Regions from separate parts of the Homo sapiens genome. Here all the other regions are linked to region 3. Evidence: promoter capture Hi-C in 16 types of primary human blood cells and fetal thymus (Javierre and others, 2016). All regions are on one chromosome and are shown on one strand. The core of a region is centred on a gene start or on the middle of the fragment in contact, and the rest is flanking DNA. Distances in the headings are between cores, read along the strand shown. Region 1 overlaps DNAJA2 (DnaJ heat shock protein family (Hsp40) member A2). Region 2 has its middle 47 kb from the start of DNAJA2-DT. Region 3 holds the start of VPS35 (VPS35 retromer complex component).

Region 1 (4,126 bases), core at 424-2,923, 270 kb after region 3:
TGGGTGACAGAGACCCTGTCTAAAAAACCAAAAACCGAACTCCAAACTTGGAAGTCAACTGTTGTTTAATTTAAAGAACACTTACAGAAAGCTTGTCTGGGTTGATCCAGTTGTTTTCAGGAAACTGCACATCAAACTTTATGTAAAGATCACCTTTTTCAAAGGGATTACGATACTGCGGCATCCCTTCACCTCGAACTACACGAACACACCCTATTATTTAAGAGGAAATGATTAATAATTTTACCCAAAAGAGGTGTTCAATTTTTTTTAGAGTTATGCAGTATAAAAAAATTACAAATTGTAATTTTTTTCAAAAATACTTGAAAACCAGAATCGGACAAAATCAAGATTTACCTGGTTCAATTACTTTGCCAGGGGGGTATTTCACCACAATCTGACGTCCATCAAGGTGCTTAAATGTGAACTGAAATCCACATAGAGCTTCAACAAGTCCTATTTTATATGTCATGTGCAAATCATTCCCATCTCTCTGAAATACCTATAAATAAAGCACAAAAGAAATACATTTTCTTAAAAATTATGGAGGTACACCCTGCAGCATTATGTTCCTTGACTTAATTTCAAAACCTTATTTCTACCACTCACTGCAAATCCAAAGTGCCACTGTCCCTAGTGCCCTAAACCGCATTAGGAAAGCTAGCTATTCCCAAGTAGTATGTGAGAAACTTCCATGAGGAAGGTGTACTGGAACTGGTAAACAATGGCATATATAAGAGCAACAGAACTGAGGCCCTCAAAACAGTGCCAGGTATATTCTGCAACTATTGCCCACTTTCAGACTCTGCCTCTGGTGAAAAAGGTACAGAATGCCCAGAGGGCTCCTACAGAACAGGCTCACCCTGGAGTGCTCCCCAGACATGATCGTAACAGGGAAGGGGGGAGGGTCCAAGATCAACATAAAACCCAACATCAACCAGTTAACACCCAGCCAGCAAAGTCAAGTGGCTCAATTCCGTGCTTCACACACATACCAACAAGTCTCACATCTCACTAAAATGCAAAACTGGCTCATTCAATATTACACTATAAGCCTATGGACTAGGTAATGCAAAAGGTATTGAGAATAAGCACAAAGAATGTTTCTGAGCCTTCAATGTGTAGGAAAAATACATCCAACTTCACACGCCCAACCTGCAATTTTTGCTTAGATTTTACAATGGTCACTCTTCTTGTAAAGAACAATCCTGGCCGGTTCACTTATAGAAAATCTGGTAGACAGGTTCTTTTCCTATGTTACTCTCCTAAATTTACTCATTAAACAAAGTTAAACCATTACCTTAACCAATGATTCTCTAAGTGTGGTTCTGGACCAGCAGCTTCAGGAAACTTGTTAGGAACACATATTCTTGGGCCCCACTTCCATTCCTGCCAGAAACAAGGCAGGCAAGATCCAGCATCTGTAGTCCTAACAAGCCCTCCAGGCAATTCTTGTGTGTGTGCTAAAGTTTGAGATCCAAGAAGGTATGTTATGTATGCACATATATTCAAGTGTTCCTCACAATGGGACCAATAGTTTTTTTAATGCAGGATTTTTCAACGCATTAAAAATGCTAAGTAGGCCAGGTGCAGTGGCTCACACCTGTAATCCCAGCACTTTGGGAGGCCAAGGCAGGCGGATCACAAGGTCAGGAGTTCAAGACCAGCCTGGCCAATATGGTGAAACCCCATCTCTACTAAAAATACAAAAATTAGCCAGGTGTGGTGGCACGCGCCTGTAGTCCCAGCTACTTAGGAGGCTGCGGCAGGAGAATCACTTGAACCTGGGAGGCGGAGGCTGCAGTGAACCAAGATCACACCACTGCACTCCAGCCTGGGCGACACAGCGAGACTCCATCTCAATAAGAAAAAAATAAAAAAATTTAAAAAAGCTAAATATAGGGTCAGAGCTTTGGGAGGCCAGTTCAAAACAGCAACATAGGGAGACAAAAAATTAAAACATAAACTAGGCTAGTTGAGGCAGGACGATCCCTTGAGCCCAGGATTTGGAGCCTGCAGGGGCAGTCCCTCCTCATTAATGATCCAGCCACTGCACTCCAGCCTGGGAGACAGAAGGACATCCTGTCTCTTAAACATAATAATAATAAATTTAAAATAAATGCTAAGTATACTGTAAAATGCCAGTGTTCTAAGAACCATCTTACCAAATATCCTTTGTTAAAGTCATACTATTTTAGGATGCATGCAGTGGCTCATGCCTATAATCCCAGCACTTTGGGAGGCTGAGGCAGGTGGATCACCTGAGGTCCTGGTCATCATGGCGAAATTCTGTCTCTACTAAAAATACAAAAACTAGCTGGGTGTGGTGGCATGAGCCTGTAGTCCCAGCTACTTGGGAGGCTGAGGCAGGAGAATCACTTGAACCCGGGAGGTGGAGGTTGCAGTGAACAGAGATCGCGCCACTGCACTCCAGCCTGGGTGACAGAGTGAGACCCCATTTCAAAAATAAAAACAAAAATAAAAAGTGGGGCAGGGCACGGTGGCTCACACCTATAATCCTAGCACTTTGGGAGGCCGAGGTAGGCAGATCACTTGAGGTCAGGAGTTTGAGACCAGCCTGGGCAACATGATGAAACCCCATCTCTACTAAAAATACAATTGCGCCACTACACTCCAGTCTGGGTGACAGGGCAAGACTGTCTCAAAAAAAAAAAAAAGAAAAGGGAACAGGAAGAGATACACATCACGTTCTTGTACAGGAGAGTTCAACTGAAAGTGATTTCAATAAAAAATGATTATGATTATCAGGATGGTTGTTGCAGCAGAGCGGGGAAGCTAAACAATTTGATGTTAAAAGTTTAAACAGAATAAACAAGCAAGGATGCCAGAGAGTTTCTGAAAAACAAGATTAATGAGGAGGGACCACCAAGCACTAGACCAGAAAACACTTAGAAGTCATATTTCTGAATAACAAAAGTACAGGTTATAGAGGCGTGACTAACATCACCAGGTTCTGTGGTTTGATGCTGTACAAGTGCACTATGGTAACCAGACCACCGAGACACACAAACAGGCACACTGACAAGTGACATGGCAGGATGATGACTATAGATGATACAGCACTCCCAAGAAGGAACGAGACAAACTTCCATTCTAACCTTTACCATCTTCTATTTTCTACTTTAGACAACTAGCTACATCTGCCTTCTGTTGAAAATTCCATGCCAATTCCACTGCTGCCAACAATTTTCAGAGATGAGTTACTTCCCAACACCTCCCCACAGGCCCCAAGAAAGAAGCTTATTCATAATCTCATTTGACTCTTTAATATCCAAAAAGTCCAGGGAAGCCAAAGCTAGTAAACGGGGCCCAGACCTTAAGTCCTTTGCCTCCAAATCCAATGATCTACTTTTAAAAACCCAATTTAATTATGCAGCAACATTAAAAACTAAACTTAGGGATAAAAAAGGTTTTACCATCAGTTTGACATGCCTCAAACCAAAAAAAAGTCATCCTTCCTCTGCAAATAAGCATTCCTTCTTCACTTCCTATCATGCTGCTGCACTGCCAGACATCATTTGACAACGAACCCCAAACGACTCCAAGGATTCTATCAATGAAAATGCCCAGGCACTGTCTGTACCATTTTACAACACAGTCTAACCTCCAAGCAGAATTTCCAATTATTTAGCTGTCTTGCTAGCTTTCTCCCTCATATTCCTGGTATGGTGGTGTGCACAGCAGCAAGACTGAAGGAACAAGGAAGTAGCTAAAATGTTAACAAATAGCAAATCTTGTAAATATTTCATTCTACAAGACCCAAAGGCAGAATTCTAAAAACTACTCTTACTTTTTGACAACCGAGGAGACGTTTGCTATCTGTAGGGTTGGCAATTTCCACAAAAAGCCAAAATACATAATTTGTAGCTTTGCTGAGTCATGAAAGCTGACTAGCATGCCCTGATTGTCCAGGAGATCAAGTCTGACCTTGTGAGGGATTACTACCAAATTCCTAAAACCTGCATCTCAATATGGCTTTGTTGTTCTCTATTGGATTCTTAAAGTGATTTTTAAAATTTACTCTATTTGAAGAAATGATCACCACAGAAGGACGATCTCCTTCTTTATCAAATATAACCTTTAAATTATAAATGATAATCAGCTT
Region 2 (4,300 bases), core at 1,132-3,631, 330 kb after region 3:
CAGAAGTTCCAGAGCAGCCTGGGCAACATCGTGAGACTCCCATCTCTACAAAAAAATTTAAAAAATTATTATTTCATTGTAGAAATGTGTAAAGTAATGGCTTTAAGCTTGTTTTATATAAGGTTTGTACAAGGTTCATTTTGCTTCATGTCATTAGTGATTTTCTTTTTCTCTTTATGACATTTTGAAGGAAATCATTTAGACCAAGAAGGTATTTGATATTCTAGATCAGGACTGGGAAATTCGATGCACTGCAGAGAGACACGTGTGGGGCAAGCTGGATGTTGTACAATTTGGATGGAAGAGGACTGTGGTGTTCTGGAGGGCCCATAAGTCAGCTCGATGAGGAACGCTCTTTTCAGGTCCAGCTAGTTGTAGCCATATGGAAATGTGAGCCCCAGGTTGCCAGAACTGCTGTTTCAAGAGAATATAGAAATCCAGATTTTCATGTAAAATTGTTTGATTTTTTTTAAGTTATATGGGACTTACTAAAATAAACCTGTGTGCCCAATTTGGCCTGTGGGTTGCCAGGTTGTGACTTTTATTTTAGACTTTCTGGTTTATACTTCTTTTGTTATAAAAGTGAAAGCATGAGACTCCATAGGTAAGTTTTGGCAGCTTATATCAAATAAATACAGACAGTAGAGAGATTATTTTTAATCCAGTGAGCAATTAAAACTCCTTCCAAATGGTGGCACTGTTGGTATCTTTCTTCAGAGAATAAGCATAGAGCAAACATTTGCGCTGAAAGAAATTTGCACATGGAGAAAATGCCTTTTAGAAAAGGACATGAATGACAAGAGCTGCGGAAGGAGCCTTGGAAAATCAGAATGCATTCCAGGCACTAAATGCAGAGGAAATGCCTCCAAGGGTATTGGTGGGATATGATATTTTTTCTTTTTATTCTTTTTTTTTTTTTTTTTGACATAGAGTCTCACTCTGTTGCCCAGGCTGGAGTGCAGTGGTGCGATCTTGGCTCACTGCAAGCTCCACCTCCCAGGTTCACGCCATTCTCTTACCTCAGCCTCCTGAGTAGCTGGGACTACAGGCACCTGCTACCACACCCTGCTAATTTTGTTTTTGTATTTTTAGTAGAGATGGGGTTTCACCGGGTTAGCCAGGATGGTCTCGATCTCCTGACCTTGTGATCTGCCCGCCTTGGCCTCCCAAAGTGCTGGGATTATAGGCATGCGCCATTGCACTCGGCCAGGATATTTTTTCTTTATAATTTACACTTAATTTAAAACAAGCCTTGGCAAATTAGCAAATGTTCTATTGATTTATTATTAGTCATTTGTTTGTTTGTTTTTGAGACAAAATCTTGCTCTGTAGCCCAGGCTGGAGTGCAGTGGCACAATCTCAGCTCACTGTAACCTCTGCCTCCCAGGTTCAAGCGATTCTCCTGCCTCAGTCTCCGAGTAGCTGGGATTACAAGCATGCACCACCACACCTGGCTAATTTTGTATTTTCAGTAGAGATGGGGTTTCACCATGTTGGTCAGGCTAGTCTTGAACTCCTGACCTCAAGCAATCCATCCTCCTCAGCCTCCCAAAGTGCTGGGATTACAAGTGTGAGCCACCATGCCCGGCCTTTATTATTAGTCTTTTTTTTTTTTTTTTTTTTTTGAGATGGGAGTCTTCTGTTGCACAGGCTAGAGTGCAGTGGCGCGATCTTGGCTTACTGCAACCTCTGCCTCCTGGGTTCAAGCAATTCTCCTGCCTAAGCCTCCTGAGTAGCCGGGATTACAGGCACCTGCCACTGCGCCTGGCTAATTTTTGTATTTTTAGTAGAGATGTGGTTTCACTATGTTGGCCAGGCTGGTCTTGAACTCCTGACCTCATGATCCATCGCCTTGGCTTCCCAAAGTGCTGGGATTATTATTAGTCTTTTTTAGCATACCTTAAACTTGCAGTTGCTTCACAATCATTTTTGTTGTTCTTCAAGAAATGATAAAAATAAGGGATCCTAGATTCCACGTTCTGCTTTTTAAAAATAAAATAATGAATAAAGCGCCAAAGCCTAGAAGACAATGGGATTGTAAATAGCAAACATTAGGACCATGTGACCTTGAACCATTTGAGAGGAATAACATGGCTCTTCTCATTAAAATTACAAAATAGGCTGGGTGCAGTCGCTCACGCCTGTAATCCTGGCTCTTTAGGAGGCCAAGGCAGGAGAATCACTTGAGACCAGGAGTTTGAGATCAGCCTGGGCAACATAGCAAGACCTCCTCTTTACAAAAATTAACAATAATAAAATTTAGAAGGCTGGACATGATGGCTCATGCCTGTAATCCCACACTTTGGGAGGCCAAGGTGGGTGGATCACTTGAGCCCAGGAATTCAAGACCAGCCTGGGCAAAATGGTTAAACCCCATCTCTATTTATTTATTTGAGACGCAGTTTTGCTGTTGTCACCCAGGCTGGAGTGCAATGGCATGATCTCGGCTTGCTGCAACCTCCGCCTCCCGGGTTCAAGTGATTCTCCTGCCTCAGCCTCCCGAGTAGCTTGGAGTACAGGCGCCTGTCACCACACTTGGCTAATTTCTGTATTTTTAGTAGAGACAGGATTTTACCATGTTGGCCAGGCTGGTCCTGAACTCCTGACTTCAGGAGATCCACTCGCCTTGGCCTCCCAAAGTGCTGGGATTACAGGCGTGAACCACCCTGCCCGGCTCTCTATTTATGTAAAAAAAAAAAAATTCTTGTTTTACAATTTTTTTTTTGAGACAGCATCTTGCTCTGTCTCCCAAGCTAGAATGCAATGGTGCTGTCTCAGCTTACTGCAACCTCTGCCTCCTGGGTTCAGGAGATTCTCCTGCCTCAGCCTCCTGAGTAGCTGGTACTAAAGGTGCGTGCCACCACACCCAGCTAATTTTTGTACTTTTTTGGTACAGACGGGGTTTCACTATGTTGGCCAGGCTGGTCTTGAACTCCTGACCTTGTGATCCGCCCACCTCAGCCTCCCAAAGTGCTGGGATTACAGGCGTGAGCCACCGTGTCCGGCCAATTTTTTTTTTTTTTTTTGAGACAAGGTCTCAGTTTGTTGTCCAGGCTAGAGTACAGTGGTGTGATCATGGCTCACTGTAACCTCCACCTCCTGGTTCAAGCGATTCTCATGCCTCAGCCTCCTAAGTAGCTGGGATTACAGGCGCCCACCACCACACCTGACTAATTTTTGTATTTTTGTAGAGATGAGGTTTCACCATGTTGGCCAGGCTGGTCTTGAACTCCTGACCTCAAGTGATCTACCTGCCTTGTCCTCCCAAAGTGCTGGGATTACAGGTATGAGCTACTGTACCTGGCCTATTTTAAAATTATTTTTTTAAAAAAGAAGGAAAATACTAGGTGTGGCCCATATAGGGTGAGATGGAGGTTAAGCTCCACTTCCTGGCGGGGAGCATCAACATGCATTCTTCTTCGAGGAAGATTTGTCTCTTCTATTTATTAATCTTTTCCGTCATAAATAAATTATGATCTTCTGGGACGCAGTGTATGGACGCAAGTGTATTTATGTTATATTTTAGGTTATAGTCCAGTACTATCATTATTTTGTTGCTCAGATTATTCCAGCTTCGGCTGTTGGAGTTCTTTCCGGTTGGCCCTGGGGTCCCTGTGACCTGCCCACACGCCCCGATCTTTTTTGTTTTTTAAGCTCTTTTAAACTTTCTGGCATTGCAAGATGCTCCAGGCTTATCTTGTATTTGCCTTGCTCTACTTCTAGCATCAACCATTTCTCCAAGGAGCCCTGGTTCCTTTCATTGGAGAACACTGTTTAGCAAACAAGACTTGATATTGGCTGTGGTCATCACTACTGAGGCCCGCTCAGTGGGCAGAGCTGGGAAAAATGTACATGCATACCAACCCATGCATGCACACAAATCTATGATTATTTCTGTATCTAGGTGTTTGTGTCTATATTAAGCTAAAAATGAGCTCAGACTCATGTTAACCATCCTGTCTACTGTGTTCCTGTACAACAAGGACGTGAGCTTCCTATTTTCCAACATGGTCAAGGAAAGCAGTGTCCTGGTTCATCAACTCTTCTAGACAAATGAGTTACCAGATGTGACTTTTGTGTATGATCAATTTGCCAATAATTAAACTATAACGTTAAAATAATTTCTTTTATTTATTTATTTTTTTGAGACAGAGTCTCACTCTGTCGCCCAGGCTAGAGTGTGGTGGCTCGATCTTGGCCCACTGCAACCTCCGCCTCCCAGATTCAAGGGATTCTCCTGCCTCAGCCTCCCAAGTAGCTGAGATTACAGGCGCACGCCACCATGCCCGGCCAATTTTTG
Region 3 (3,951 bases), core at 318-2,817:
TACAAGCGTGTCTCCCCCAGTAGCCTCTTAAGTTCGACATTGGTACCCAGGGCCACAGTCCGTGACACTGAAGGCACACAAGATGTTTGATGAATTGAAGTGGATTCTGGAATTTTAGGGCTGGGAAGGGCCAAAGGGGCCGCCAACACTTGCTTTCGGATGCAAAAGTGCGACACCAAGAAGACTAAGCGAGCTGCCTAAATTATAGACAGTGACTGTGAAAGAACGAATACTCAAGTTTCCTTTCCCAATAAAATTCATGAGGACAAGACTGTGTGTCTGGCTGATTGCTCCCAACTGGTTCACCCAACAAAGAATCGGAGTGTGTAATACATCCTCAATTAAGTGTTTTCCATTACAAAACAATATAAATGTCAATCCATAAACGCTGGAAACACACAAATCCTAAAGTTAAATTTTGCGCCGGTCTTGTATCAATTCCCAATTATAAAAATCCTGAGAAACAGGCAAAATCACCTTGTACGGCAACACGTTATATGAAAATAGTATTTGTAAAACACTTAATCCTTTCTGGCATTAAGACATTTAAAGTGAAATCTGTTTCCAGGCTTACAGATTTACAGAAGCCTATCTACACAGAGTGAGTAAGGTAATTAAAGCGGACATACAGTATATACTCAAAAAATTTATTTACACAGTGCAGGCTATGTTAAACGCTAATAAAATGCAAGTGACAACTTGCCTTTGTGGGAACCAGACACAAAGATTCACATTTTGAGGAAGTTCAAGTTTACCGGCCAACAGCCACACCACGATTTGCTGCCGTCATAGACGGGCCCTAAGGAGAAGTACTGCTTCCAGCAAGTCAAATACTTGGATTTTATCAATGGCGAGACAAAAGAGGCAAGGTGCGCCCAATGCACAAATGCTAAAGTAAACAATCAGTCTCCTTTGCGACCGTCAGGATTAGAAGACAGCCTGAGTCCTTCCAGGAAATTCATGTAAGCAGGTCCCCAGAACTCGCTGACAAACACTGCAGCCGAAGGCGGGTATGAGGCCAAGAAAGGCCAAGGAATCACTGCGACCCCTCCAGGAGGGCGTGGGGACGGCCGAGCACAACTAGGCACAAAGGTAGAAACGCAACATCTGGGCGGGTCCCGGCGCCACCTCCGAGTCTCAGGGCCTCCACGCGCCCCGGGGGCCAGACGCTCAGACCTAGGACTACCGGTCCCCTCGTGGTAGGCAGGTGACCGATTCCACTTAAAGGAGGCCGCAGGCCTTCATGGACCCCAAAGCCTACATGCCAAGTCAACCCCACAGAGAGGCCGCCCCGTCTCTCAGCAACGGCCGCAGCCAAGAGCCGCCGCCCACCCCGGCCCGGATCAGCCTGCCCGCGGCCTTCCTCCTGCTGTCCCCTATCCCGCAGGCCAAATCGGGCTGGTCTTAATCCCGAACGGTCTGTGGGGCCCCTTCTCCACTCGCTGGAGTGCGGGGCGGTGGGAGAGAGCAGGGGCTACAAGGAGGGTCGACCCAGGTGCCACTGCCCCCTCAGCACTCACCATGGCGACTCCCCAGAGCCTGCAGCAAGCAGCACCCGCCCCGCGCGTAGCCTCCCGCGGTCATGTGACGCTGCGGCCCCTCCAAGCCCCGCCCTCTCTAGCCCCGCCCCCGGGCCCTACAGGCGGCTCATTGATTGGCCTACTTCTAGGAACCCGAGTCTCGCGTGCTTATTGGCCCTGTCACTTAACGCTAGATGGACGGACCTGAGCGCCAGCCAATCTCACCACAGCGTGCGAGAGTGGGCGGAGCAGTGCAGGGCAGTGGGGATCGCCCGGCGGCAGGCAGGAGACAACAGGAGGGAAAGGCAGTGTGTGATGAGTTTGTCAAGAAGGAATGGAAGGAGGGGGAGCCGACAAGTCCACGTTCACCGCATCTGCGTTGGCGATTGCGCTATTGATGCGCATGCGCAAAAGGAAGACCCTGATTGGTTTGTGGGACGGTCTCAACGTCCTGTCCTAACCAATCCAGATGCGCCGGGGGTGGGGCCTGGCTCTCACTGGCCGGTGCAGCCTTTGCGCGCGGGTTTCGTTGACCCGCGGCGTTCACGGGAATTGTTCGCTTTAGTGCCGGCGCCATGGGGTCGGAGCTGATCGGGCGCCTAGCCCCGCGCCTGGGCCTCGCCGAGCCCGACATGCTGAGGTGAGTTCGGCCGCGCAAGACCAGGGCTGGGCTTCCGCCTCGCGGCCCTGGGCCCTCAGGTGAGGCCCGCGCCCTTCCCAGGCGACGGGCGGCGGGGGAGTGACGGGGAGCGCTGGGGCCGGGCGGGGTTTAGGGCCTACTTCAAGAAAAACTTCTCGGCCGTGAGCTTGAATGAGATGGCAAGAAGGGCGATAGCAAACGGCGATGGCACACGTCCCTGGGAACAGCCAGCCCTGTCCGTGGGTAGAAAAATGAGCCAGGGAGAACTTTCCGTTCATTCCGCCAACGCCTACTGCAGTCGGGTTTATAGCGGGGAACCCGACAACGAGGCGCAGACCCCGCTGTCTGTAAGGGCGAGGACTGTGTAGACCTTAACCGGGCAATGCTCCTGAGCCACTGGGCTTGGGGTGGAGCGCGGCCTAGCGGCTGCCTTTAACACAAAGAAACAAACAAAACTCGGAAAAGCAGGCGCCGTTCCCGCTGAGGCCGGATTGATGGCAGATGCTAGGCGAGGAAAGATATGGCAAGAGCAGCCCAGGCAGGGGCGACAGCTCCTGTAAAAGCGTTGAGATGGGAAGCGGGATCCGGGGTTCGAAATAAAGCCATTGTAGCTAAAACGTGGAGCAGTCAGGCGAGGGAAGGCAAGGAAAACAGCACTTAAAAGATTTGAAGACAAACCTGCAGGACTCGGTAGTCATTTAGAACAGTGGTTCTCAAAATGTGGTTCCTGGACCAGCAACAGCCATATCATCTTGTCACTTGTTAGAAATACAAATTCTTGGGTCCCACCTCAAGCCTGCTGATCAGTAACTCGGCCTGGGACCCAGTAATTTGCAAGTCCCCAAGGTGATTTTCGCCTACCATCAAGTTTAAGAACTACTGATTTAAAGGAAATAGGAGGAAAGGAGGAACCCTGGTCTAACCTGCCTGTCTCTGATAGTTCGTGCTTGTTCCAGTAATGGAAGGAGGAAAGAAGGGTAATTTTTTTGTCAAAATTTAACTTCCTTTTGCCTGAAAGCATTTGAGCACAGTGATGTTTGGAGTCAGTGCTGGTTCTGTCTTCCTCTCACCAGAGGATATGACCTTCATTCCCAGCCCCAGATAAACGAGCCACAGGAGTTAGGCTTAGTGTGAAGCTAACCAGGCTGTATTCATTGTTTACCAACGTGTTGAGCAAACTTCTGAATAAGTTGTAGCGAACACACTGCCCTTTTAACCAGGAAAGCAGAGGAGTACTTGCGCCTGTCCCGGGTGAAGTGTGTCGGCCTCTCCGCACGCACCACGGAGACCAGCAGTGCAGTCATGTGCCTGGACCTTGCAGCTTCCTGGATGAAGTGCCCCTTGGACAGGGTAAGTAGGTCCCACCGAATGTCTGAATAATCCAGTGCAACATTGAAGCTCTTTTAACTTTTGGTTGAACTAAACCCTAGTAAAAACTCTTGTTTTAGAATTGTCCTGGGTATTCTTGTGTGTTATTCTGGAAATACTGTAGAATCATTTTGCATTGGAAAATATTTTTTTGCCATGTTTTCTTTACTCTTCACTGTTTTCCCTGACCACCTCTTTCTCGGCTAGAGGCCATCTTCCACATTGCTGCTAGCATTACCCTCCTTTTAAAGCACGTATTTCCAAACCCCTATGCTTTTCTTCCAATGTCACAGTGTTTGAGAGAACAAGCTTTGGGGTCAGTCAGGAGGAGTTTCATGTTGAGATCAAATCTCCACACTAGCTACCTCTGTTAGCCTCCAGTGTCCTCATCCATAAAGTGAAGATAAAATATCCAATTTCGCT

What was found. The method cuts DNA at HindIII sites, captures the fragments that hold promoters and counts their contacts. A CHiCAGO score of 5 or more calls a contact.
Region 1: a fragment that was not itself captured here is called in contact with the fragment with the promoter of VPS35 in region 3 in 10 of 17 cell types (total CD8 T cells, naive CD8 T cells, naive B cells and 7 more); the score reaches 12.2 in total CD8 T cells.
Region 2: a contact is called between a fragment that was not itself captured here and the fragment with the promoter of VPS35 in region 3, in 1 of 17 cell types (total B cells). The highest score is 5.5, in total B cells.

The regions. Positions count from the first base shown.
Region 1 is chr16:46,958,918-46,963,043 of GRCh38, forward strand. It overlaps DNAJA2 (DnaJ heat shock protein family (Hsp40) member A2), which reads right to left. Exons shown (of 9, transcript NM_005880.4): 7 at 358-502; 8 at 86-213. Among named protein-coding and RNA genes, the nearest start is that of DNAJA2, 13 kb to the right of the region's middle. RefSeq lists an enhancer at 1,033-1,699. The HindIII fragment of the contact is 3,169 bases long and covers 90-3,258 here.
Region 2 is chr16:47,019,067-47,023,366 of GRCh38, forward strand. No RefSeq gene overlaps it. Among named protein-coding and RNA genes, the nearest start is that of DNAJA2-DT, 47 kb to the left of the region's middle. The HindIII fragment of the contact is 4,553 bases long and covers 106-4,300 here.
Region 3 is chr16:46,687,611-46,691,561 of GRCh38, forward strand. VPS35 (VPS35 retromer complex component) reads right to left here and starts at 1,568. Exons shown (of 17, transcript NM_018206.6): 1 at 1,521-1,568. The coding sequence starts at 1,523. It overlaps ORC6 (origin recognition complex subunit 6), which reads left to right and starts at 2,049. Exons shown (of 7, transcript NM_014321.4): 1 at 2,049-2,160; 2 at 3,381-3,510. The coding sequence starts at 2,096. RefSeq lists enhancers at 1,039-1,736, 1,737-2,435, 2,673-2,752, 2,803-2,872 and silencers at 1,273-1,322, 1,473-1,712, 2,033-2,332. The HindIII fragment of the contact is 9,040 bases long and covers 1-3,835 here.